4 separate regions of the Homo sapiens genome follow, and regions 2, 3 and 4 are each linked to region 1. Evidence: promoter capture Hi-C in 16 types of primary human blood cells and fetal thymus (Javierre and others, 2016). All regions are on one chromosome and are shown on one strand. Each heading gives the region's core, a stretch centred on a gene start or on the middle of the fragment in contact. The rest is flanking DNA. Distances are from core to core; before and after follow the strand shown.

Region 1 (6,338 bases), core at 1,896-4,395:
AGTAATAAATCAAGTACTACTTATTTAGACAACTGATATTTATTTCCAGCAAATGCTTTGTGGAACCTGAAAACTATTCTCCATTTTGTATTTTTCTATTAGGTTGGTGCAAAAGTAATTGCAGTTTTTGCCATCATGTAAGTGACAAAAACCACAATTACTTTTGCACCAAACTAATAACAATTTGGTAATAAAAAACACAGAAAATAAGCATAAACTATTTCTAAACTCCAGAAAAAATTGTTGACTGGGATATAGGTAGTCCAATTCTTAATACACAACACAGGGAATGTTCAATAAATGTCACTGTCTAACTGATAGTATTAATGCTAAAGGGTTACTTCTCTTTGCCTAGGCCATTGCTTAATTTCTATGGAAAGTATTTTCTTTATCCCATAATGTTTAATGCATCATTATTATTTTAAATATAATATACCTTCATTGAAAAAAAAGAGGTTTTCTTGAGTATCTAGAGTTTACATTCCAGGATTTTCTATGAAATAATTCACCATCTGCTACTGATGAGGTTAGATAATAACTTAGGAAAATTTGGGGGTATGATGTTTACAGATGATGAAAAGATGTTGCTGTAGCAGTTTTTTATTTTCATCAGTAGAAACTGTCCTTAGTTTTTAACTGCTTTTATTCCCCTGCATTATGTTTTCTAAATGTATCTCCCATGCATCACTGCAATTTGAAATATTTGAAAAAAGTACCAGGTACAGAAGAAACAGTCAAGTTGGGGGCTCTAAGAGCAGTAATCGAGGATTCCCACAGCCTCTAGTATGGTCTCTGGGTACAGGCATGCAGCCTGGTAACTGCATTAAGACTCCTAGTCTTGAGGTTTGGGACTCCAAGGATCTCTTTATTCCAGTGAGTTAGGCTACCATCTTACTTACTAACCACTCTCTATACAGGGAGCATATGTACTTGCATATACATACTGCTTTCTATCATTTAAATTAGTTATTGAAAGGCTTTCAATTCTTTGTGGACCAACTTTTGAATTACATACTTTTTTGTTTAGATATAGCTATGCCACTTTTTGTCCTCTACGTTGATTTCCAACTTACTTGCAAAAATCAGAATTCTTATTTCTTTGTAGCAGTTTGATGTAATAAATTCTGTACATTTTTTAAGGGCAAATGTATAAAAGTAGCTAGGGCTTTTAAACTTTTGGAAAACAATATTTTCAAGAGAACTATTAAACACAAATCCTTAACCATCTAAATGACACTTTTAAAAGTTATAAATCATATGCTTTTCCTAAGATGTCTTTTAACATCTTTAGCCCCCTCCTTACCAGAAATTTAGTCCACTTCTGGATCTCTTCTAAATTATCTTTATCTTTCCTTTCATCTCATAATATATCATTTTAAGGAGAAATGGTCTTACAGATTACTTTAAGATTTTTCCTCTAAATGTACGATTTAAGAGTATCATAACGAGTAATCAAGAAGTTTATATGATAAGATAATGTAAAGGGATGAGCAGGCATATAATACTCATTTTTCCAAAAGCACCACCATCAACACTACCCATTATAACCACCTTAAACATCTGGTAAATCAATCCAAAATTAAATTAAGCTTTTATAAATTCATATTGGGTTTAACCATTTGATCTAACTTATTGATGGAAAACTGCCTCTAACAATTACTGAAATTACAGACTTAGAAATGAAACATTCCATTAGCTATCTCTGCCACAATAGCATAACGTTACATTTTGTTCCATTACTTTCGCCCAGCCCCTTAAGAAATAGGGATTTTATGTCGTCTTATTTCACATTCTGACTCCAGTCACTTGGGTTTGGAGGGCATGGTTTCCACTAAAGTTAAAAGACCTAGCTCTATAAATTACAACTAAAGACCTAAAAAATTCTCTGCAAATTTAATTCTCAAAACATCTTTTGGGATAAAAAGTATTTCTATTCTTCAAAGATTAGAGAACCGAGTTCAACGATTTACTGATTTAAGTTATCATTATGTGATTGCTAACGCTGCAGTAGATATGAAATCACGATTTCCATTAAGACTTAGATTTTACCTAAATGACGACTGCTTTAGTATGTCAAAGTTTAGGAGCCCATCCCCATTTTTTTAAACTGCTTAAAAGAATGGCCTTAGCATGCCAAAGTTTAAGAGCCCATCCCCATTTTTTTTTAACTGCTTAAAAGAATGGCCTTACCATTTTCTTTGGCCAGGAACTAACTACAAGATGATAAATTTGCCAGTACTTTCTTTTCATAGTTGTTCTTTGCATTGGAACAGGAAAGGGTGCTTTATCACTCGTTACGGTTGTTCATGGCCCAATCCAAATCATATAATACGCTGGCTGCTACTAACAGTTTTAGAATAAACAAAAAGAAGAACTATAATGCAGTAGGTTCTACATTTATAAAGCCCATGAGCTGATTTCGTGCCGAAAGTAAAACAGTCTCAAGAGTTTAAATGAATCCTGGAATCACAGCAAATTCAGGAAATTTAGGAATATGTTGGTAACCCTTAAGCTTTTTAAAAACTGACTACACCCTGGGCAAGTAACCACCCCCTGATGCCGTTGTGGGAGACAGAATTTCTGGCAGGAAGATAATTTTCTGACTCAATCTGGCTTGCCGTTCTTGTTTAATCATCCCCATTTCTCTGAACATTTTACTCCTCTGACTACAATGGTCAACATTTATTTTCAGAAGTTTTAAAGTGATTTAGTTCTTCCAGCCGCACCTCTTTTTATCCCATCTAAGTCTTCCCCAGCCCCCATTCCTATCGCCCTCGTTTCACTAAGATTTTGCTAAACATTAGACACAAGCACATGACCTCCAGTCTTCCACTGTCTCGGAACAAACCGACATAAAAACATCTGATTAGTTCCATTGTAAGCTTCCCTAGGCTTAGAATTTAAAATGGTCTTTAGCTCGTCAATGCTTAAAGAACCTACAACACAAAATTTAAATTTTAAAAATTTTAAATAAAGAAACCGCTCCCTTTTTTAACCTTTAGCCCCGCCCATTGCCCCCCACCCCAGGTTCCACGCGAAACTGCAGGAAACCGGAGGGGGCGGAGCGGTGACGTCACGACGCCGGTGCGTCACGGAACGGCGGCGGCTGCGGCGCTGGCGGTGGCTGCGGCAGCGGCGGCATTTTAGTCGGCAGCGGCGGCGGCAGCGGGGCTGCTGCTCCTCCCAGCATCCCTGGCGCGGCCATTTCAGCCCCATCTTGGCCCAGCGGAGGGAGCTGCAGCCGCCGCTTCAGCAGTTTGAATTTCAGTTTCTTCGGGGTTTAGGAATTGGGCGCACCGAGGAGGAGCCGGAGAAGCCACCACCGCTACCTCACACAGCCGGGGCGCCTCCGGTCCCGTGCCAGCGGTCTGCCGCCGCCGCCCCTCTCTGAGAGAAGCCGCGAGGGGAGGCCGAGACCGCCGTCGCCGCCCGCCCGCAGGGGTGGTTCCCCCTGTAAGGGGAGGACCGAGCCGGCTTTCCCCTCCCCCAGAGCGGGTTTCCGCCTGAGGCAGTCGACATGTCCCTGGGGCTGAGCTCCGGCTAGAGCCGGGGAGGGAGGGCCGCCTGCCCGCGCCACAGCCCCACCGCCCGCCCGCGGACCTTCAGCCAGCTCCGGCCCGCGGCTCCCGGCTGAATTAGGCATCTCCGACTCCGGACTCGCCGCTCCTTCCCTCAGTCAGAGAGCCCAGCGCTGACGCCGGCACCGGCCTGAGGAGCCCGAGCGGGGCAGCACCGCCCCTCACGCCGCCGCCACCGCCTCCTCCTCCTCCTCTTCGCCCTCCCACTCCCACCCCCAGCCAAGGCCTGCTGACCGCGCCGAGCGCCGAGCTGGACTGACCACGGCTGCCCGGAGACGAGAGAGGAAGCAGCCGGCCCGCCCCTGGGTTCGCGCTCTCGCCGCCTCTGAGGGAATTGAATTGAGGCGCCGCGGCTGCGAGAGCTAAAAAGGAAGGAGGAGCCGCCGCGGGACTGAGACGGGGGCAGAGCCGAAGAGACCGACACAGAGAAGGAAACGAGGAGGAGGATGTCTCACCGGGCGGCCAGCGCCTGGATCAGCCCGTGACTCTTAACAGCGGCGGGCCTCAGACCCCAGCGCAGACTCGGACTTTGTCTTTGGGGGCCCGTGCTCTGCCCTCCCCGGTTTCCGACAGGACCCAGAGGAGCCGGCGTGCCTCTCTGCCCTCCAGCCTTCTTCACCATGTCCAAGATGCCGGCCAAGAAGAAGAGCTGCTTCCAGATCACCAGTGTCACCACGGCCCAGGTGGCCACTAGCATCACCGAGGACACCGAGAGCTTGGACGACCCGGACGAGTCACGCACAGAGGACGTCTCCTCCGAGATTTTCGACGTCTCTCGGGCCACGGATTATGGCCCTGAGGAGGTCTGCGAGCGCAGCTCTTCCGAAGAGACGCTTAACAATGTTGGGGATGCGGAGACTCCCGGGACCGTCTCCCCAAACCTCCTCCTAGATGGGCAGCTGGCAGCGGCGGCTGCTGCTCCCGCCAACGGAGGAGGAGTCGTTTCGGCCCGGAGCGTGTCTGGGGCGCTCGCCAGTACCCTGGCGGCGGCTGCCACTTCGGCCCCCGCCCCCGGAGCACCCGGCGGCCCCCAGCTCGCGGGCTCATCCGCCGGGCCAGTGACTGCAGCCCCATCTCAGCCTCCCACCACATGTAGTTCCCGTTTTCGCGTGATCAAGCTGGACCACGGGAGCGGAGAGCCCTATAGACGCGGCCGATGGACGTGTATGGAATACTATGAGAGGGATTCAGACAGCAGCGTCCTGACTAGATCCGGGGATTGCATTAGACACAGCAGTACTTTTGACCAGACTGCGGAGCGGGACAGCGGCCTGGGCGCCACCGGAGGGTCGGTGGTGGTAGTAGTGGCCTCCATGCAGGGGGCGCACGGGCCCGAGTCGGGAACTGACAGCTCCTTGACTGCTGTGTCACAGCTACCCCCGTCGGAGAAAATGAGCCAGCCCACTCCGGCCCAGCCGCAGAGTTTTAGCGTTGGGCAGCCACAGCCGCCGCCGCCACCCGTAGGTGGGGCTGTGGCTCAAAGCTCGGCTCCGCTGCCGCCGTTCCCGGGAGCCGCGACCGGGCCGCAGCCAATGATGGCAGCCGCGCAGCCCAGCCAGCCCCAGGGAGCGGGGCCCGGGGGACAGACTCTGCCGCCGACGAATGTAACCCTGGCGCAGCCGGCTATGTCCCTGCCTCCGCAGCCGGGCCCTGCAGTGGGCGCCCCCGCGGCGCAGCAGCCCCAGCAGTTCGCGTATCCTCAGCCTCAGATACCGCCCGGACATTTGCTGCCCGTCCAGCCCTCCGGCCAGAGTGAGTACCTGCAGCAGCACGTGGCCGGCCTGCAGCCGCCAAGCCCCGCGCAGCCCTCGTCCACCGGCGCCGCAGCGAGCCCCGCCACGGCGGCCACCCTTCCCGTGGGCACCGGCCAGAATGCTTCCTCGGTGGGCGCGCAGCTCATGGGCGCGTCTTCCCAGCCCAGCGAAGCCATGGCCCCCCGGACGGGACCAGCGCAAGGCGGGCAGGTCGCGCCTTGTCAGCCGACTGGAGTGCCCCCGGCTACTGTGGGAGGCGTGGTGCAGCCGTGCCTCGGTCCTGCCGGGGCTGGGCAGCCCCAGTCCGTGCCTCCGCCGCAGATGGGTGGCAGTGGTCCGCTGTCAGCCGTACCTGGTGGCCCTCACGCCGTGGTGCCCGGAGTTCCAAACGTGCCTGCAGCCGTGCCCGCTCCAAGCGTGCCTAGTGTGTCTACCACTTCTGTTACTATGCCAAATGTACCCGCGCCTCTGGCCCAGTCGCAACAGCTGAGCAGCCATACGCCAGTCAGCAGGAGCAGCAGCATAATCCAGCATGTTGGGCTGCCCTTAGCGCCAGGCACACACAGCGCACCAACAAGTCTACCACAGTCTGACCTAAGCCAGTTTCAAACTCAGACCCAGCCTTTAGTCGGGCAAGTCGACGATACTAGAAGAAAATCAGAACCCCTACCTCAACCACCACTTTCTCTCATTGCTGAAAATAAGCCTGTTGTGAAGCCGCCTGTTGCAGATTCCCTGGCAAACCCCCTTCAGTTAACACCTATGAACAGTCTGGCCACCTCTGTATTCAGCATAGCTATTCCTGTTGATGGTGATGAAGACAGGTATGGAAATCTCTATTTTAAATATTTGATAGAAATGCTTGGCCAACATTGTAGCTTAGGATGCAACTTTGGGAGATTGTTGTCAACGGAGGCCCTTAGCATTTTTAAATACAAAATTTAGTTTTTGGTAAAATTGATTTAGATTGCTGATGCTGATGTCAAAGGGTGTAATGAGCGAATTG
Region 2 (6,338 bases), core at 1,476-3,975, 790 kb after region 1:
TTGACTTGCATTTAGAAACAGGATTTCTAAGTAAACCTGTCCATATTTGCTAGCTAACTGTATTTTTTCATACTGAGTTTTTTTTTGTTTTTTTTTTTTTTATCTTTCAAAGCTATAATTAACTTTATGGTCCAGTAAGGCCAGAATTGGTAGCACAAAAAATCCTGTCTTTTATGCATTATTTTCACATCTTAATTTTTCTTTCTGAGCCTTGGTCTCTTTAGGTGAGGCAAAAGTCTCAGTGACCTTTGAGCGGAATGCTTTTGAGAGGTGATAGTACAGGATAGGATCAAAGCACAGGTTCGACACAGCCAGGAGCAGTGTAGCCTCTTTGGCTTTGAAGAGTGAAATCCTGGTTGAGCAATCAGTTATGACTTCTGTCTGGCTGAGGGTATACGGGATTCGGACAATGTGGTAAGGAACAAAGCATATGATGTAGCCCGTGGTCACTAAAAGTATGTTGATGAGAGCCTTTTTCACATTTGGGTAATTTTCATTATCTTTGTTTCTGTAGAGCTGTCGAATTACAAGGCAATTGGATATTAAAATGATGGCTGAGAAATTTAAAAATATTGCTACACATATGAAATTTGTCAGCAAATGCCAATTTCTTCCAAATTCCTTTTTAAACTCCATACAACCCACATTTGACTTTTCCTTGATGTCTTTGATGGGAATCATCATATTTGGCACCATTATAAGAAGGACCATTAGCCACACAACGGTTGATATCATTTTGGCAAATCCGGGTTCTTGTATTCGGTAGATCTTGCAGCTGTGTGTCAGCTGAAGACAGCGGTCAATGCTGACAAATGCTAAGAAGATAATTGATAAATACATATTGATATAGATGAGGCAGGCTGTTACTTGGCAGTGGAATATCTTCAGCTTCCAAGGTGCCACACCCAAGTCAACAACAATTTTCACTGGTAATGCCAGAGTAAGCAGGAAATCGGCTGTAAGCAAATTAATTAAGTAGATGCTCACACACCTGTGATTCGTATTCTTCTGTATAAAAGCCCAGGTTGCAAAACAACTTCCAATAATTCCAACAAGGAAAACTAAATAAAAAAAATACGTGAATGGCTCCAGATCTTTATAAACTGGGCAGAAGAACGAACTGTTTGTCATCTTGAGGGAAAGTAAGGATGACTGCTTATTGAAAAGAAAAAATTTCTAAGACTCTGTAAAAGAAACAAGGAAAGGGAGGTTAGTAATTAAAATTAGCAACTATTTTCTTTAAAAGACATTGGTCTTCACAATACCGTTGTCTTTCCAGTTCTTAGAATTTTATTGGTGAACTTACCAGACCATATGGCCTGGTGAGAACATACTAGATTGTGAAGATGCCTGGGTTTTCCATTGTCTGATTTTGTGACTTTCAGGAAATCCCATGCAGGTTTGCTTTTGGTAGGGATATTTTCAACCTCAGGTTTTTCCATTCTGGTAGTTCTTGTTACCAGTTGGGTTGGAAGTTAGTTTGCAGAGGAGATAAGTGAACCGAGATTCTGAGAAGTAGAGAGAGGAAACTAGGGTTGTGGTTGAGCATGAAGAGCTTTCAATGAGGCCTTCTGGTTTTTTTCTTGTTTTAGTTTTTTGTTTTCCATAGATTCATGTGGCTCCTAAGGCTGGGAGAACCCAGGCTGACAGGGGAAGTAAGGAGTTGATGGAAAATCTCCAGCCTGGTCGCAAGAGTCTGTCTCAAAAACAAACAGAAAAAAACCAAAAAAACAAACAAAAAAACCCACAACTACCAGAACATGGATGTATGTTCATTGGTTACAAAATCCTTGGAGAAAGATTTATTTATATTAGTATCAAAACATCTGACTTCAACACTTGAGTCGCTTTTTTTTTCTTTCATTGTGGGTTTTGAAGCAGTTAAAAGCCCAGAAGCATAAGACATACCCTTAGAACTACTGTGATCACCACTGATAATGACAATGAAGTCTTGTCATGTCCCTCCCAAATCTGGAACATTGAGCGGGTTTGTAAGCTCAAGTTAAACTGATAGGGCTCCCTTTGACCTGGTCTATTCAAACTCACATGCTTAGAGCTAAGGGTACATTAGTAATCTTTCTGGTGCTGCCTGTTGGTGTGGGTCCCCCTTTTGCACATTAAACAGTGTTCTTTTGTTTTAAAGACCTGAAGATTATTTTTGTATTTTAGCAAGGAAACATTTTATATTATAATACAACCTTTTTAAAAGAAGCAAATATAAGTTATAGTGACCAACATTGAAGGCCAGATCAGCTACTCTGTAAGTGCCTTTTAATAAGAGAATAAAACTTCTGACATCTTTCTAAATTTTAATTTCCCCAATTAATTAATGATCCTTTGTGTGCATTTGTAATGAAACAATGTATGCAAACAGATGAATAAGGCAGATGTACACAAAGCTTTCTAAATTCAAGTGCTGCTTAAAGGCTACATGCCCTTTCTCTTTCCCTACCTGAGTTAGCACGTTAGAGTCCATGAATAATGTCATTCTTTACCAAACTCGATGAAAATAATTAAGCAGTTGGTTTGTATCTGGCACTATGCCAAATACTTTACATGTACTTATTTAACTTCTTATCATTTCCATAAGCTAGGTGTTGTTATTGTCCCTGCTTTACAGATGAGGAAATTGAGGCATAATGGGGTTACTTACCCAAGGTTGTGTAGCTGGTAAGATATAAAGCCAGGATTCCAGCTCAGTCAGTCTGATCTCAGAATCACATTCAAAACCACTCCAAAACACTGCCTCAGTAACAATAGTAAGATGATGATAGAAATGATAATGATTATTATTATATCTGCCAGTCTTTACTAAGGGCTTACTGTGTGGGCAGGAACTATGTTCTAAACAATTTTTATGTAATAAAGCTGAAATAAACTATTTTTAACTTTTTACCAAAATACTAAGAATATAAGTTTAGGCTTTTCGTATATTTTGCTGTTCTATGCATACAACCACGTGCACACACTCTCTCTCTCTCTCTCTCTCTCACACGCACATTTAAAAACAAAACCTAGGCCCATCCAATAAGTTTAAACCAACTTTGCTCTCAAAGCTTCCATAACCTAGTTTCTCTCTACCATCTCTACTTACATCCCAGATTAAGATTGGGATTGGTGGGGTCTCTATTATTCTGTGTACAGTTCCTTCCTGCCTTTATACTTTTGCATGTGATAGAAATTTTGGAGTCATAGGATTTTAAGGATGGATGGAAACTTTATCGATAGCCTGTAGTCTAATCCCCAAGTCAGTTGAGGAGATTGAGGGCTGGCACTGGTGTGTTCCTCAAGCTTTCACAGCATGTTCAGGCAGGACTAAGATCTGTTCTTATTGGTCATCTTCTAAGCGCTCTGCATTTATCCTTACTATTCCTGAATCCTGCTTATTCCAGAGCTTTAAGGAAGCTCCTCACATCTGAAAGCTACTCCAGGCTTTACCGATGTCCTTGGCGACCATGAATTTGGATAGTTACCATTTGTACCTTGGAATTTTGAACATACTTTTCTTCTTTATGTGAAAAACTAGTATTCGTGTGCATTGATATAGTGTCACATCTTTGCTTATTGTTACTTTCTAAGGCCCTAGGATTTTGGCTTACGCACTTCTATTTCAAATATTACATAATAATGGTAACATAATGTGTTTCTTTAAGTGCTCCATTGCTTGCACAACTATAAAATAAGTCTGTTGTATCAATGAGACGTATATGGTAAAGAGAAGAATTAGAGTAATTTATTTTGATTAATTTTCTCTGTAGCTAGAACTGACGATATATACCGTACATGAATAATTTATCTGAAATGAATAATCATTCAGTAATTCTCAAGAATCATGGAGCATCTCACATTTCTCACATTTGTGTTTGTGAACTTTTGTCTAAATTGCAGTGAGAAACAAATCTGTTTATTTAAAATTTTTGCTTATGTAAATTAGAGGTTAAAATATTGTATAATAACATCCTGTGTTCTGTGTCACAAGTTTGAGAACTAAGTGCTTAATAAATATTTTACCAGACAGTTACTTACCAGTGAAAATGTGAGATACTCAGAAGTAGTGCAGCAACAACAATACAAGATTTTAACTGTCTCTGTAGTTTGGATAGAGTGCCCATTGCTTAGAAAATAAATAAACTGGCTGGGCACAGTGGCTCACGCCTGTAATCCCAGCACTTTGGGAGGCTGAGGCGGGTGGATCACTTGAGGTCAAGAGTTCGAGACCAGCCTGGCCAACATGGTGAAATCCTGTCTCTACTAAAAATACAAAAATTAGCCAACGCGGTGGCGGGCACCTGTAATCCCAGCTACTCGGGAGGCTGAGGCAGGAGAATTGTTTGAACCCGGGATGTGGAGGTTGAAGTGAGCTGAGATCGCACCACTGCACTCCAGCCTGGGTGAAAAAGCGAGACTCCTCAAAAACAAAACAAAACAAAAACAAAATAAAAGCTTATTAGATTTTCTATGGGAATCACAGTGGAATCTTCTTGAAATCACCTATTGTAATGTTTGTAGAGGAAAGTCATCTTAAGGCCTGTTGTTCCCTGTTGTGAAGATCTACAACATGGCCTCTATCCACCCAGTTATAAGATTGAGTTACTGAATAGTTATGCTCGCTCAGGTATTCAGTCTGGTGTCAATTATCCTGTCTTTTGGAGACAGATGAATGGGTTCATCAGATATAAGAAAATTATAGTGTCATTCACAGCTAGGACCTATTTAGAGTTTAAAAATTGATGCTTTTTTTTTATACAGCTTGGCTTTTTCTACTTATAAGCCTTAAATACTGAAAAATCACAATTTTGTTTTCCACGGAAAAGCATTTGAATATATTAAGTGTTTAAAAAGACATACCTGGGGCTATCTTCTGTGAGCCTCAGCAAGCCTTGCTGCAAGTCTTCAGAGAAGCATGAGCTGTTTGGTTAGCCGCAGCAGTAGCAACCCCATTGCAGGCTGCTGGCTTTACTAAAAATTTCCTTTCCTTTTTGTGTGGTTTTAAAATGTTGCATATTGACGTAGATGAAACTGTGGTTTGCAAGTAGTTTAACTTTATGAAAGTCTCCTAAAGAAGTTTTTTTAATGTATACAATTTCATGTATGCTTTCTTAAGCAATTTATTTGTCATATTTTTTAGAGAAAAGATCTTCATTTAGTACCTAGCCTTTTTTTTTTTTTAAAGTATCCAAGGTATGTTTTGTGTCATAATGATTTCAAAGAATATCACTCTTCATGCCTTGATGGGGATTAATAATTAAAGATATAAGGTGTTTAAGCAAATATTTTTTCAGTATATATAGTAACACAGCATTTCAAAGTTAAAATTTAAAAAATAGTTGCAGTTTTTATTCCTGCTGAGACACCTATTATTAAAAAAAGAAGTAAACAAAAAGATGTGTTTTACAGAGTCAGCTAATGTATACATTTTATTTATCTTATTTTATGTTCATTATAGAAAAATCTGGAAATAGAAATAAAAAAGGAACATCATTATGCAGAGAGATAATTACTGTTAATATTTTTGGTACATAAGTTTTAAATTTTTTCTATGCTTATGTATTTCCACTTAGATGTTATTCATACTATTTTATAGTTTATAATTTTTCATTGAAGAATATATTATATATTCAATTTATGAGATTAGACTTGTAATAAGTATTTGTCTGTTTGACTCAAACAGCCTGATGAATTGGAATAGTATTTAGTAATTAATAGATTGTGTGTAAAGGAACCCTACAGTGTGTATTTAAGTTGTTTGGTTAAATGTTCATTGTGTCTGTGGCAGAACTAACTGAATGTTTGAAAGAAGCCTAGCATGCTGGGGGACCTAACAAACATATTTTCAAGAGTTCTGAATTTTCTGGTTCAAAGTTGATGTGTTAATGCAAAGCCATTGCCTGGTTATTTAGGGTCTGGTTTCTTCTAATGCTTCATTGGCTTGGTAGGTGCTTTGGTTTCTTTTAATAATACTTGGTCAGTTTTCTGGATAAGAAAAAAGAAGATACCTTTCCAGGATCTAAAATTAATCTCTTGGTATTAGTTTTTAAAAAGAAAAATGTCTCAAAAGATGAAATGAGAAGTATCTAGCTAGGGAGAATTTAGGGAAAGTCTAAGGAGACTTTTGAAAAAAATGTAAAGATGCTTATGATGATATTGGTCACGTCTCAGGTATTCTGACATTCTCCCAAATTCATATAATTATTATTTTTGCCAGTGAAGACCATAAATTATAAACTAGGAGGGAAAAAGCAAATGTTTCTCAAACATTTTATGTTAAGAACCACTGTGAACTTCATCATCATAGTGCTAGGAAAGGATCTTTCTTTTAAGATATGTATGCTTCAACA
Region 3 (6,338 bases), core at 2,040-4,539, 680 kb after region 1:
GGGCAAGGACAGAAGGCTGGTTAGAAAATGCCTGCACTAGCGTATGTACAGGCAAAGGACATTTGTGTATTTCTGGCAGACCAAATGTAGGGAGAGAAAGCCAGCCATGAGCTATATTGAAGGGATTTGCCCAAAAGCACAAATGGATACCAACTGTGAGGGACTCCTTGCAGAATGCTGAAAATCAGGGCTTTCAGAGGGAACATAAGCAGTTAGGGAATCTTTGAGAAACCCTTGAATGTGACCCAAGAAAAAGGGTCAACTTTTAAATACCTGGTAACCCTCAAAAGCAGCAGTGAAGACTCAGCTTTATACTTGGAGGATATAGCACCATATGCTTAAAATGGTTTGTAATTCATTCACCTTTCTCCAGCCACATTTCAACCCCATTTCCCTGGATAGCTATACAAAACTTCCTTAGGAACCTGAACTCATCCCTTCTTGCTAGGCTGAGGTTCAAGGCTGGGACCTATTTGGGGAGCCTCTGGTCTTCTCTAATTTCTGTTCCATGCAAATTTTTCCTGGTCCCAGGGAATCATTAGCTAGGTAAAGATAAAATACCCCTTAGGAACAGTATCAGCTAGAACCCACATTATTCAACGAGAATGTTTGCCTGCTATATTAACCAGCACCACGTGGGAAATTCAAGCACTGTATAGAACACAGTGGGTTACAGGTTAAGCCCATCATGATGAGCTGATCTTAGTCTGCTTAAAGACCTGGAATGGAAGAAGGGGACCAGGAGGAAAAGGTGAGAATGAGGCAACAAGACTATTCTGTGTGACACATTCAAATGCATGCCAATAAATAAGTGTTAAGATAATAAAAATTAAGTGCTAAGGGCACTAAAAAGCCAAAAGATCACCTTTTGCCAGGGGAATTTGAAGGGGCTTTGTACAGGAATCCGTACTCTGAGGACTGTAGAGGTGAGTATTTGAAGATGAAGAGCCTGGGAATTCCATATTAGGAAAGGAAGCTAACTAGGGCAAGAGGTTAAGGAGAAAAAGCTGAATTGCTAGGTAGGGGGTAGATTACAAAGATTTCCCAGGGTAAGGAGCCAAATGCCCATGGGAAATCCATGCAGTAAAATAATGATTCCTAGGGGAAGCTTCTAAGCATATTAAAGTTTTCAATATTTATTTATTTTGTGTTGAGAGGGTCAAGGAATTCATGCCAGACTGTTTCAGGAGAGGGAGTTAAGAAGGGACAACAACAGGGAGAGGGCTATTATTTTCCCTTCTTCCCAAACACCAGGGGCACACTACTGACACATTTTGATTTTAAGATAAAATTCTTATGGGCAGATAAGATTTTAAGTGCTTCAAAGTGTTTCAGTTGGAGGCGCTTGCTTAGGCATCCCAAGGGAAGAACTGAGATTACATTTCTCCCCCAAACTAGGGGTGTTTGATTCAGTAGCAGCGCAGGCTGTTATTCCCAAAGTACCACTAATGATGCAATCATCAGTCCATCCACACATCGCCTACCTATCATCCATTCCATAAGCCAACATTTTTGAATGCTCACCATGTGTCAGGTCCCATACAGTGTTTCTGAGTTGCAACAATGAGTAAAACTGTCCTTACTAGTGTATGTCAGTGAGTTGGGAATGGGGGAGAAAGATGAAACAAAAATAGTAACTTTAATTTTTATAGCTGAGAGATGAATATTTGAGGGCTCCTTATATGATTTCTTCAGCTTTTTGTATGTTTAATAATTTCCCTAATAAAGTTAGATAATAAAAAAAACCCTTTCGGCCGGGCGCGGTGGCTCACGCCTGTAATCCCAGCACTTTGGGAGGCCGAGGTGGGCGGATTGCGAGGTCAGGAGATCGAGACCATCCTAGCTAACACTGTGAAACCCCGTCTCTACTAAAAAAAAGAAATACAAAAAAAATTAGCCGGGCGTGGTGGCGGGCGCCTGTAGCCCCAGCTACGCGGGAGGCTGAGGCAGGAGAATGGCGTGAACCCAGGAGGCGGAGCTTGCAGTGAGCCGAGATCTCGCCACTGCACTCCAGCCTGGGCGACAGAGCGAGGCTCTGTCTCAAAAAACAACCAACCAACCAAACAAAGAAAACAACAACAACAAAAAACTGTCCTTTCTTTCAAACAAGGGAGCTACATTTGATAGATGCCTGTATCACAAGGGCAAGTCCAGCCATGAAATTAATCCCAGGATATTAGTGGAAGAGAAGACCCTGGGGCAAGATGGGGAAGGTGGTCAGGAAATGCCCTCCAGTGAAGTTAGGTAAATGCTCTCTAGAAGTAATTGTTCAGATTAAGGAAGCCAAAAGCTAAACACCTGACTCAGCCTCAAACTGGGTTTGGAGGTGCTCACAGGTCAGGATCAGGAGTGAGGAACTAGCCTCTACCACATTACCTTCACTTTATTTATCTCCTTCTTCCCCCTTTGCTTAAATGTCAACGAACATCAAAGTTGATGTTCAGATTCAACCAGCATTTCCAGAGCACCTACTATGTATCAAAGGCTTCCGGTTAGAATCTGCCTTTACCACCTTACAGAGAGGGAAGGCCGAGAATGCCTCAAGCCGTGGAGAACGTGAGTCCATCAGGCAAGGACAGGTTAGGAACCCAGTCCCTCCAAGTCCAAGTCAGGGAAAACAGGTCAGAAACTTAGAATCAGTCGTGGGTTCAAATTCCGACTCGTTTCGTGGCTTTCGGCAAGTGAGTGGTCCTCTCTGAGCTGGCTCAATTTCTCCATCCATAAAAAGGGTACAGTAAGACCGTGGAAGGTTGTAAGGACCAGAGATTCTGACTATCAAGATCCTGGCACGTAGCGAAGGCTCCATAAATGGCAGCCATCATTCTTGGCCAAGTGCGGGCGCATTCTCCCGGGCACGCCTCCCGCGGGGTCCCTCAGGACAGGCCGAGCCCGCCTCCGCGGCTCCGGTCTCGCAGAGCTCGCGCCAGGTGGCCCAGCATCTTGGTGCCCGCGCCCCGAAGCGAGGAGCGAGGGCGGGTTGGATGACCAAGGTCTGCCCTGGAGGATCACCCCCCCCGCCCCTTCCACGCTCCCGGCGCAGGTGAGGTTTTCGGCCCAGGCCACGGGGACCGCGACCTCTGGGGAGGTCGAGGCGGAGGGTGCAGCGGGGGGCTTGGAGCAGGGCTCCAGAGGGCGCTCCCTCCCTCGCCCAGGTTCACCCCAGGGCCAGCCTCGGCGCCGGGGCCCGCGGGCTGCGCGCTCTGCGGCTGCGAAAACCCGGAGAGGCGGATTGGAGCGCGCTCACCGCGCTCTCAGCCAACTCCTCCGCGGTCCGGCCGCCGAGCTGGGCATGCTCAGTGCGGACGCCGCGCCGCCGTCCGCCAACTCGGAAGCTCGCGCTCCCGGGCCGTGGGGGCGAGAACGCCGGCGGCGAGCCGGCGTCGCTCGCCGCCCCCAGACAGTGGCAAACTTCGCGGCGTTCCCGGAGCTCGTCCGGGCGAGGCAGATACCGCACAAATAAAATCAAATCCAAGTCCCCCATCCCAACCCGAATGATGGAGGCTGCGGCGGCCGGAGTGACCCCGCCGCCGCCAGCCCCAGCCCGCTAGCCGCGGACCAACAGGTAAAGTGTTGGGGGTTGGGGGCGGAAGGGAAGAGGAGCTGGGGCCGTGGGGAGGCGGCGGGCTGGAGGAGCCCGAGACGCCTGCGGGCTGGCTGCCCCCGTCGGCGCTCACAGCCATCGCTCCTCACCCCCTTCCCCAGCCCCTGGAGGGACTGTAAAGGGTTAAGTCGGCCCCACGCCACCGTGAGCACGGCCCCCTCCAGCCGCCGCGACCGCCAGCAGCGCGCCTCGGCGCCTGCCCGGAGCCGCCGAGGGGACCGTAGCTGCGGATGCGCCACTGGAACCTGGCGGGCGTCTAGGAGGCACCGGCCGCTTCCCACCGGCCGCATCCCTGCGTCTCGCGCCCCCTCCAGACCTGCCTCTGCCTGCACTGGCCCGGTCCGTGTCCAGGTGGCGGGGTCTGCGGGGCGCGTGGCGGCGGGGGAAGGGTCCCTGCCGGGGAAGAGAGGCGGGGGCGGTCCGCTCCACAGCTTCTTCCCGGGAGGGGAGGGCCACCCTCGCCTTGGGCGAGCACTTCAGCCACCAGCCTAGGCGCCAAGAAAAGTTTTTTTTTTTTTTTTTCCAGTGCCCCACCCCCACCCCCATCCTGCGCCCAGCTGGGGTGGGTTTGGGTCCATTGGTGAAAAAAGTCACACGTTCCCATCAGCTGCTCCTCCCCCTGGAGACAAGGTAGGGGGGAGCAGAGGAGGCAGGCGCCGCGGAGGACCCTGGCCGACCTCTAGTCCCTCCGCCGCCGCCACCGGAGCGGTGCGTCCCGGGGCTCGAGCGCAGCCGAGTACCCGCCGAAGGCTGTCCCCATCAGTGCGTGTCTGCTGCCGGGCAGCGGCAGCATCCAACCTGCTTTATTCCTCCTGCCTGCAGCGCCACAGCGAGCGAGCGAGCGAGGAGGGGGAGAGAGGGAGTCTGTCTGCAAAGTGCTGCTCCCTGGTGCTCAGAGGCGGCTGCTCCAGCTCCAACTCTCATTCATTTCGCCGGTTAACATGAGAGATCATGGCCGCCTTCGGGCTTCTCAGCTATGAGCAGAGACCGCTGAAGCGCCCCCGGCTCGGGCCGCCCGACGTCTACCCACAGGACCCCAAGCAGAAGGAGGTAAGGGCGCCGGCGGCCTCCCCGGCAACCGGGGCCGCGCTCTGCAGCACTGACCCGGGGCCAAGTTGGCCCAGCGGGCATCGCCGGCGCTGCGGTGGAAGAGGTCGGGGAGGGGGATTAGAGGCGGGGGCCAGGCTGGGGGTGCTGGGCGACCCCCCGGCGGCGGAGACCGAGCGGCTGTCAGTCCCCGCGCTCCACTGGGGCGCTCGCTTTCCATGTGCCGGTCGCTTTCCCGTTGCCGGGCCTTGCACGGCGCCGCCGGGCGCTTCTCGGGCTTCTTCCCTGCCGAAACCTTGCTCGCTCTCACCCGTTTCTGCCTGCTTTATTTTTCTTCTTGCCGCTTCGGTAAATCGTCGTAAACTTTTTGAAAAATGTTGGAATGCAGTGCATCCTACACTGAGGTCTTGCGTTTTGCTTTTGCTGGCCAGGGACGAAGGTGAGGGGGAAGCTTTTCAAATTTTCCAGTTTGGAATGGAAGTCGTTTTTATCGAAGTGATAAATATTTAGCTCTCTGAATATACCTCTGTAACCCTTCTGCCCTTTAAAAATTAAAATTAAGGAGAAACACTGATTTTCGTCTCTAGAGGCAATGGGCTTAATTGCTAGAGGCTGTTTTGTATACGTAAAAGCAGGCGAGTTACCTTGGGAGGGAATAGTTCCCAGGATTGCTTATTTCTTTGAATGAGATTAATTGGAGACACCTTGACTCTTGCACCAGCTACATTAGCTTCAATGGCTAGGGTAACCATGGCATTTTGTAGCTGTGTATCTGTTTGTCAGGAGTTAACAAGTAATTATGTAACAAGTCTCTAGTTATAATGATCACCTTTGGCTACACCATTTGCCCAGGGACTTGCCTTTTTTTTGTTTTTTTTTTGATCACCTGCTACCCAGCAGTGCTTTCTGAGTTTGCCAGCTGCAGTCCACCCATCTTCTGTTCAGCTAAACACGAACTGACCATATTTCAAAACTTACCTTTCTGAGAATCTAAAAACCCTCCATTAAAAGTTTGTGGGCCCACTGATAGCACAGAAAGGGCCTTGTAAACCAGGCAAGGAGGGGTCCTTAAGACTTTCCTTTTGATAAGTGTATCTTTCATTAGGAGAGTAAGTGCTTGTTCTGGCTAAACTGTCTTGCTTATAAAGTGTCTGAGAAGTAAGGAACAGCAACTCCTTTTAGAGGTTTAGCACACTAAATATGCTCTAGCATCAGTGGAGTCACGCAGATGAAAGCTGGGAAGGTTTTACAGGTGGTTTCCAGCACCAGCTTTACAGGATGGTAGAGGTTTGAGAAGATTTCCCAGATTTTTTTTCCTACCCGTTACCCCACCCTGCTACCCCAACTTAGAATGAAGTTAATGGTTAAGGACTGGAAATAATAGAGAAGCTGAGGATCAAGTGTACAGTTAATAGCTTAAAAATTATTGGGAGGAAATTCTTAAAGTTTTGATAGGGACAGGGATATTTTGTTGGTTGAACTTTATCATCTTGTAATTAATGTCTTACTCTGTCTTTCCAGAGGGCAGCATAATTGATGGCATGATGGCTTGGGGTGCTGTGTGGGCTTATTTAGCATTTGTTCTTCAGGCCAATGCTCATTTCACGACTGGGGCCTCTGATTCTGGAAAGAGTAATTTTGGATTTCAGGGTCTCACAACATTTTATGGAGTTCTAAAACTGGAAGCGAC
Region 4 (6,338 bases), core at 1,157-3,656, 530 kb before region 1:
CTGTGTACTGAGCTTTTAGTACAGTGCCTACAATACCAGAAACAATTAACAGGCAGTAATGGAGGAGTATACTCAGAGATCTGTCGCTGGGTGGCGCTGAACATCAAAATTCTTACTGTAATTGCTCCATCACAGTTACTTTTCAAGTGCAATGGAAGTTCCTGTGTTACTTGTGAAATTCCTAGTAAGCTGATTTTAAGTACAGAAAGTTATCCTCTTGTTGCACAGAAAGTTATTCTAAAGCCTTTATTTTCAGTGGTGGGTGGGCTGAAATGGGGCCTCTGCTATGTTAGGATGAGAAATCATTAAGATTTGATTGGAATATGAATCCTATCAGTGTCTAAAAAATATGAACTTAGATCAGATCCTTTATTTTAAATATCTACTTTAATATACATAGGTAACTAGAGAATATTTATGAATAGCTTTTTTAGATTTAAATTGCAATTCTGACAAATATTTAGGCAGCTTTTAACTAGTATAGTTTATTTTAACTGGTGTGGTTCATTACAAAGTAAAGATTTTTTTAAAGCAGTTTTAACTTAAGCATAACTTACAAGTTTTAACTTATAGCAAGCATAACTACACATAAAGGTTATTCAGATTTTCTTAATGTCACTGGGAAAAAAAGACGAATGTAATTTAACTTTTAAATTAATTTTAATTTTATGTTATTCATTTTATTATCTTTAGTACTAATCATGTTCCAGCTACAGTATTAAGCTTCATAATACTGGAAATAGCCACATTCAAAGACCTATAAGCTAATGACTTTGATTTTTTGATGGGATGTTGCAGAACATGATTGTTGCAACATGGAACAATCATGTTGAAAGGCATCAATCTTTTTTCTGATTGCCAACAACCTATGGAATATTAAAAACTATCTATATGAGTGAGTTTCAAACTTTTTTGACTGCAACCCACCCACAGTAAGAAGTTTATTTTTACTTGTTCCCTAGTTTGTATACAGCACACAGTCTGACAATAAAATTTCATGGAATAGTACTTACCTACACTACCTATACGATAATAACTTGGTATATGAAATTTCTTTTTATTAAAAAATAAAATTCACTTGGGTTCACTAAATGACTTTACTGCCTGGTAATGGATCATGACCTATAGTTTGAAAAATGCAGATTTAGGCCAATCTTTTCTGTGTAGCAGTGAAAACTGGCAGGGACACTAAGAAGTATGCTTTTTGCCTAAGCACTTCTAAGTTCAAAAATTGCTTTTTATTTGTAATTTTAGTAGTAAATTGTGTCTCCCAGTATTTAAAATTGCTTGTCCATATGCCATAGATTGACTTTAAAATGATGCCATTGGAAAAAATAACAAAAGATCTTTGTTTTTTTTTGAGATAGAGTCTTGCTCTGTTGCCCAGGCTGGAATACAGTGGCTTGCTCGCAGCTCACTGCAACCTCCACCTTCCAGGTTCAAATGATTCTCCTGCCCTAGCCTCCTGAGTAGCTGATATTACAGGCACCCACCACCAGGCCTGGCTAATTTTCATATTTTTAGTAGAGATGGGGTTTCACCACGTTGTCCAGGCTGGCCTCGAACCCCTGACCTCAAGTGATCCACCCACCTCGGCCTTCCAAAGTGTTGGGATTACAGGTGTGAGCTACTGCACCCGGCCAACATAAGATCTTTAATAATTTAAGTTCCAAGCGTTTTGGCTTCTGTTTTTTGGTATACTGTACTTGAAACAAATAAGTATGGCTTTTTGTATAACACAAGATTTTACTAGCCCTACCAAAAATGTTTTCTAATGAAATAAATAAATTCAGCTTACCTCTAAGCTTAACATGTACAGTGGTAATATGCCACTTAGCAAAAGGTCAACTTTCCCAGAACATAGCCTCAGAGAAGAGAAGGAAACATGCCTTTGTACCACCATTATGAATGTTGCTAAGCTTCAGCGTTAAAACCATGTACTTTTCCTGGCAGTTTTTCTCAGAATTCTTATGCACTTAATTTTTTTTAAAGAATAGAATTCTTATCGGGTTTAGTTCTTTTTTTTTCTCTGCCACAGAGAAGGATATACAGATGGAGGAAGTCCAGAATAACTATTAGTAGAGTACCAGTGGTAAGCACAGAGAGAGGAAGTAACATATGACACTTAACATTAAGGAGAAAAACTATAGTCTGTTGAAGCATGTTCATGATGATCTCGAGTAACTGGAAAAGGTCAAGTCACATTTGGTGAAAAGGTGGGGAAAATGCAACATATCACAAAAATTTTTATCCAAAATGACTAAAGTAAAATTTCCTGTGTGCTTTCGTGGAGGGTGGGTGGGGGAGGGGGTAGGAAGGAACTAACCAACAGATACGAGGAAATTTTATTTTTTTGACTTATATATTGCTGGATAGGGCTGGATAATCAGTTACCTTAGTTGCAGTTTACTTTAAACAACTATTTATATGAGAGATATTTTTCTAGGCTTGAGATATACATAAACAAAAAAGATTGTTCTTAAGGAACATTAAAGCCTGGTACTTAAAATGCTCTAAATGTTATTTTGTCAGATCTCTGTTTTTCAAGGTGAAAACAGGCTTAGTTTTCTAGTAATTAATGTTTATACCAAGAAGCATGAAAACAGATCTTTTGTTAATTTTTAAAGTAATACTCTGAAACATGAATTTTCACAAATTTTGCTTACTAGTATTGTGCTATGCACTTACCTTTACTAAGTGCAGGATGATTTTGTTTTTATTTTCAATTTGAGACCATGATGAAATTAGTCCATATTTATATCATGTTTTTAATGAGCCATGGTAGTTGAAAATTAATCTATTTAAAGTTAAGTATGTGAAGCTGGCCTGATTAAAATGTATCAGGTTGTCACAGTACTCAGCTGGATATTTAAAAAATAATGCCCTCAAGACAAAAGCTTGTGGTTCATGTTACAACAAAGATGAAAATACAGGTATACTTCTGAAGTTAATCCATTGTTAGTAACTACCAAGTGTTTTTTCTTAAACAGTTTTAAAATAAGCCCCATATTTTATGTCTTATACATTCTCTCTCTGTACAACAGCAGCATTCTCCTACATGTAGTTACCACACTTAAGAAATTTAATATTGATAAATATTATCTAATAATATAAACTACATGTTTAAATTTCCTAATTGTGTCCAAAATATCTCTTATAGTTGTTTTCTTTTTAACCATTTCAGGATCCAATCATGAATCCCAGACTAAACATATTCAGCTTAGTTGTCATGTCTCCTTTAATCTACAACAGCTCTTGATTCTTTTTTTCCTACTTTGTGCATTTCTGTGTTTCAGTTTAATAATTTCTATTCCTTTGTCTTCACATTTACTGATCCTTTATTCTACAATGTCTATAATCTTTTAAGCCCACCTAGTGAACTTTTCATATTGTATCTCTTTTATCTAGGAGTTTCACTTGGATCTTTAAAATGTGTGTGTATGTGTGTGTGTATGTATCATCCATTTCTCTGAGCCTTATGTTTATATTCTCCTTCAAATCCTTGAACGTAATTTATAATTTTATGTCTTTATATTACATGTAAATGTATTCTTATAATAATAAATTATAATTTATAGCTGTTTTAAAATCCTTGTCTGCTATTCATAATTCCGTATCCATGTAATTTCTGGGTCTGTTTCTGTTGAATGGTTTTTCTCATGGTTATGGGTCACATTTTCTTGCTTCTTGGCGTGTCTACCTTTTTTTTTTTCAACTTTCATTTTTTAAGTTCTGGGGTACATGTACAGGATGTGCAGGTTTGGTACATAGGTAAACGTGTGCCATGGTGGTTTGCTGCACGGATCAACCCATCACCCAAGAATTAAGCCCAGCATCCATTAGCTATTCTTCTGATGCTCTCTCTCCCCCGACCCTCCCTGAGAAGTACCAGTGTATGTTCTCCACCCTGTGTCCATGTGTTCTCATTGTTTAGCTCCCACTTATAAGTGAGAACACGTGGTGTTTGGTTTTCTGTTTCTGCGTTAGTTTGCCAAGGATAACGGCATCCAGCTCCATTCATGTCCCTGAGAAGGACATGATCTCGTTCCTTTTTATGGCTGCATAGTATTCCATGGTGTATATGTACCACATTTGCTTTATCTAGTCTATGATTGATGGGCATTTGGGTCAATTCCGTATCTTTGTTGTGAATAGTGCATGTCTAGTAACTTTTGATTAGATGTTGGACATAGTGTTGTATTGTCATATGTCTTGGTCTTTAAAGACCTTTTAATTTTGTTGTGGCTGGCAGTAAGTTACTTGCAGATGAGCTTGGTTATTTTCAGGCTTGTTTTTAAAGTTTGTTAAGTTGATGAAGAGTTGCCTTTACTGTAGCACTACTATTTTAGCTGTACTAATAAGGTATAACCCTTCTAGGGTGTCCTCTGAATGATCTAGTATTCAAGGAAGTCTCCCCTCTCTGGCTGGTCAGAGCTTGAACTCTTCCTGATCCTGTCTGAATTCTGGAAATTGTTAATCTTTTTTCCAGTAATTGTTTTTTTTTCCCTAGTGAGCTTGTTTGTCCAGGCTTATAAGGTCTCACTGTATGCATGCATATGCCATTCTTATATTTAGCCAAAGACCTAAAGGGAACCCATCTACATTTTTTTTTAGTTTTTTATTTAAAATTTTTGTGGGTACATAGTAGGTGTATGTATTTATAGGATACATGACATTTTTTGATACAAACATGTAATGTATAATAATCACATCATAGAAAATGGAGTATCTATGACCTCGAGCATTTATCCTTTGTGTTACATACAATTCAGTTTTACTTTTTAGTTCCTTTAGAATGTACAATTAAATTATTAACTATAGTAACCCTGTTGTGCTATCAAGTACTAGGTCTTATTTATTCTGTGTGTGTGTGTGTGGTTTTTTTTTTGTACCCATTAACCATCCCCATCTCCCCCCACTACACTACTCTCTTATCTCCATGAGTTCAATTGTTTTGATTTTTAGATCCCACAAATAAGTGAAAACATGTGATGTTTGTCTTTCTGTGCCTGGCTCATTTCACTTAACATAGTGGCTTTCAGTTTCATTCATGTTGCAAATGACAGGATCTCATTTTTTCTAATGGCTGAATAGTACTCCATTGTGTCTAAGTACCACATTTTCTTTATTCATTCACCTGTGGATGGACACTTAGGTTGTTTCCAAGTCTTGGCTATTGTGAACAGTGCTGCAACAAACATGGGAGCTTGGGTATCTCTTTCATATAGTGATTTTCTTTCTTTGGGGAATATACCCAGCACTGAGGTTGCTGGATCATATGGCAGCTCTATTTTTAGTTTTTTTGAGGAATCTCCAAGCCGTTCTCCCTAGTGATTGTGCTAATTTACATTCCTACCAACAGTGTACAGGGTTCCCTTTTCTCCACATACTCTCCAGCATTTCTTGTTGCCTGTTTTTTTTGGATAAAAGCATTTCAACTGGGGTGAGATGATATCTCATTGTAGTTTTGACTTGCATTTATCTGATGATCAGTGATGTTGAGCACATTTTTATTTGCCTATTTCCCATTTGTATGTCTTCTTTTGAGAAATGTCTATTCAAATCTTTTGCCCATTTATTAATTGGATTATCAGACTTTTTTCCTATAGCATTGTTTGAACTCCTTATATATTCTGGTTATTGATTCCTTTTCAGATGGGTAGTTTGCAGATATTTTCTCCTAATCTGTAGGTTGTCTCTTTACTTTGTTGATTGTTTCCTTTGCTGCGTGGAAGGCTTTTATCTTGATAGGAGTCCATTTGTCCCTTTTGCTTTGGTTGCCTGTGCTTATGGGGTATTACTCAAGAAATTTTTGCCCAGACAAATGTCCTGGAGATTTTCCCCAATGTTTTCTTGTAGTAATTTCATAATTTGAGATGTTAAATTTAAGTATTTCATCCATTTTGGTTTGATATTTTTATATGGCAAGAAATAGGGGTCTAGTTTCATTCTTCTGGATATGTACCTCCAGTTTTCTCAGCGCCATTCATTGAAGAGACTGTCTTTTCCCCAGTGTATGTTCTTGACATTATTGTCAAAAATGAGTTCACTGTAGGTGTGTGGATTTGTTTCTGTGTTTTCTATTCTGTTCCATTGTTCTGTGTATCTTTTTATGCCAGCATCATGCTGTTTTGGTTACTATAGCTGTGTAGTATAATTTGAAGTCAGGTAATGTGATTCCTTCAGTTTTGTTCTTTTTGCTGAGGATACCTTTGTCTCTTCTTGGTCTTTTGTGGTTTCATATAAATTTTACAATTGTTTTTCTCTATTTCTGTGAAGAATGTCATTGGTTTTGATAGACATTGCATTGAATCTGTAGATTGCTTTGGGTAGTGTGG

What was found. The method cuts DNA at HindIII sites, captures the fragments that hold promoters and counts their contacts. A CHiCAGO score of 5 or more calls a contact.
Region 2: a fragment that was not itself captured here is called in contact with the fragment with the promoter of TSC22D2 in region 1 in 2 of 17 cell types (activated CD4 T cells and naive CD4 T cells); the score reaches 6.0 in activated CD4 T cells.
Region 3: the fragment with the promoter of MED12L here is called in contact with the fragment with the promoter of TSC22D2 in region 1 in 1 of 17 cell types (fetal thymus); the score reaches 12.7 in fetal thymus.
Region 4: a contact is called between a fragment that was not itself captured here and the fragment with the promoter of TSC22D2 in region 1, in 1 of 17 cell types (megakaryocytes). The highest score is 5.6, in megakaryocytes.

The regions. Positions count from the first base shown.
Region 1 is chr3:150,405,153-150,411,490 of GRCh38, forward strand. TSC22D2 (TSC22 domain family member 2) reads left to right here and starts at 3,146. Exons shown (of 3, transcript NM_001303264.2): 1 at 3,146-6,156. The coding sequence starts at 4,199. RefSeq lists silencers at 3,237-3,836, 4,507-4,676, 4,937-5,216 and enhancers at 4,207-4,256, 4,963-5,842. The HindIII fragment of the contact is 3,533 bases long and covers 2,881-6,338 here.
Region 2 is chr3:151,198,256-151,204,593 of GRCh38, forward strand. The region is part of intron 16 of MED12L (mediator complex subunit 12L); the gene reads left to right. It overlaps GPR171 (G protein-coupled receptor 171), which reads right to left and starts at 4,961. Exons shown (of 3, transcript NM_013308.4): 1 at 4,849-4,961; 2 at 2,654-2,742; 3 at 1-1,184. The coding sequence starts at 1,131. The coding sequence ends at 172. The HindIII fragment of the contact is 657 bases long and covers 2,398-3,054 here.
Region 3 is chr3:151,082,375-151,088,712 of GRCh38, forward strand. MED12L (mediator complex subunit 12L) reads left to right here and starts at 3,290. Exons shown (of 45, transcript NM_001393769.1): 1 at 3,290-3,562; 2 at 4,424-4,651. The coding sequence starts at 4,553. RefSeq lists silencers at 2,942-3,311, 3,748-4,042. The HindIII fragment of the contact is 3,991 bases long and covers 1,107-5,097 here.
Region 4 is chr3:149,879,989-149,886,326 of GRCh38, forward strand. All of the region lies in intron 4 of RNF13 (ring finger protein 13), which reads left to right. Among named protein-coding and RNA genes, the nearest start is that of RNF13, 70 kb to the left of the region's middle. The HindIII fragment of the contact is 978 bases long and covers 1,918-2,895 here.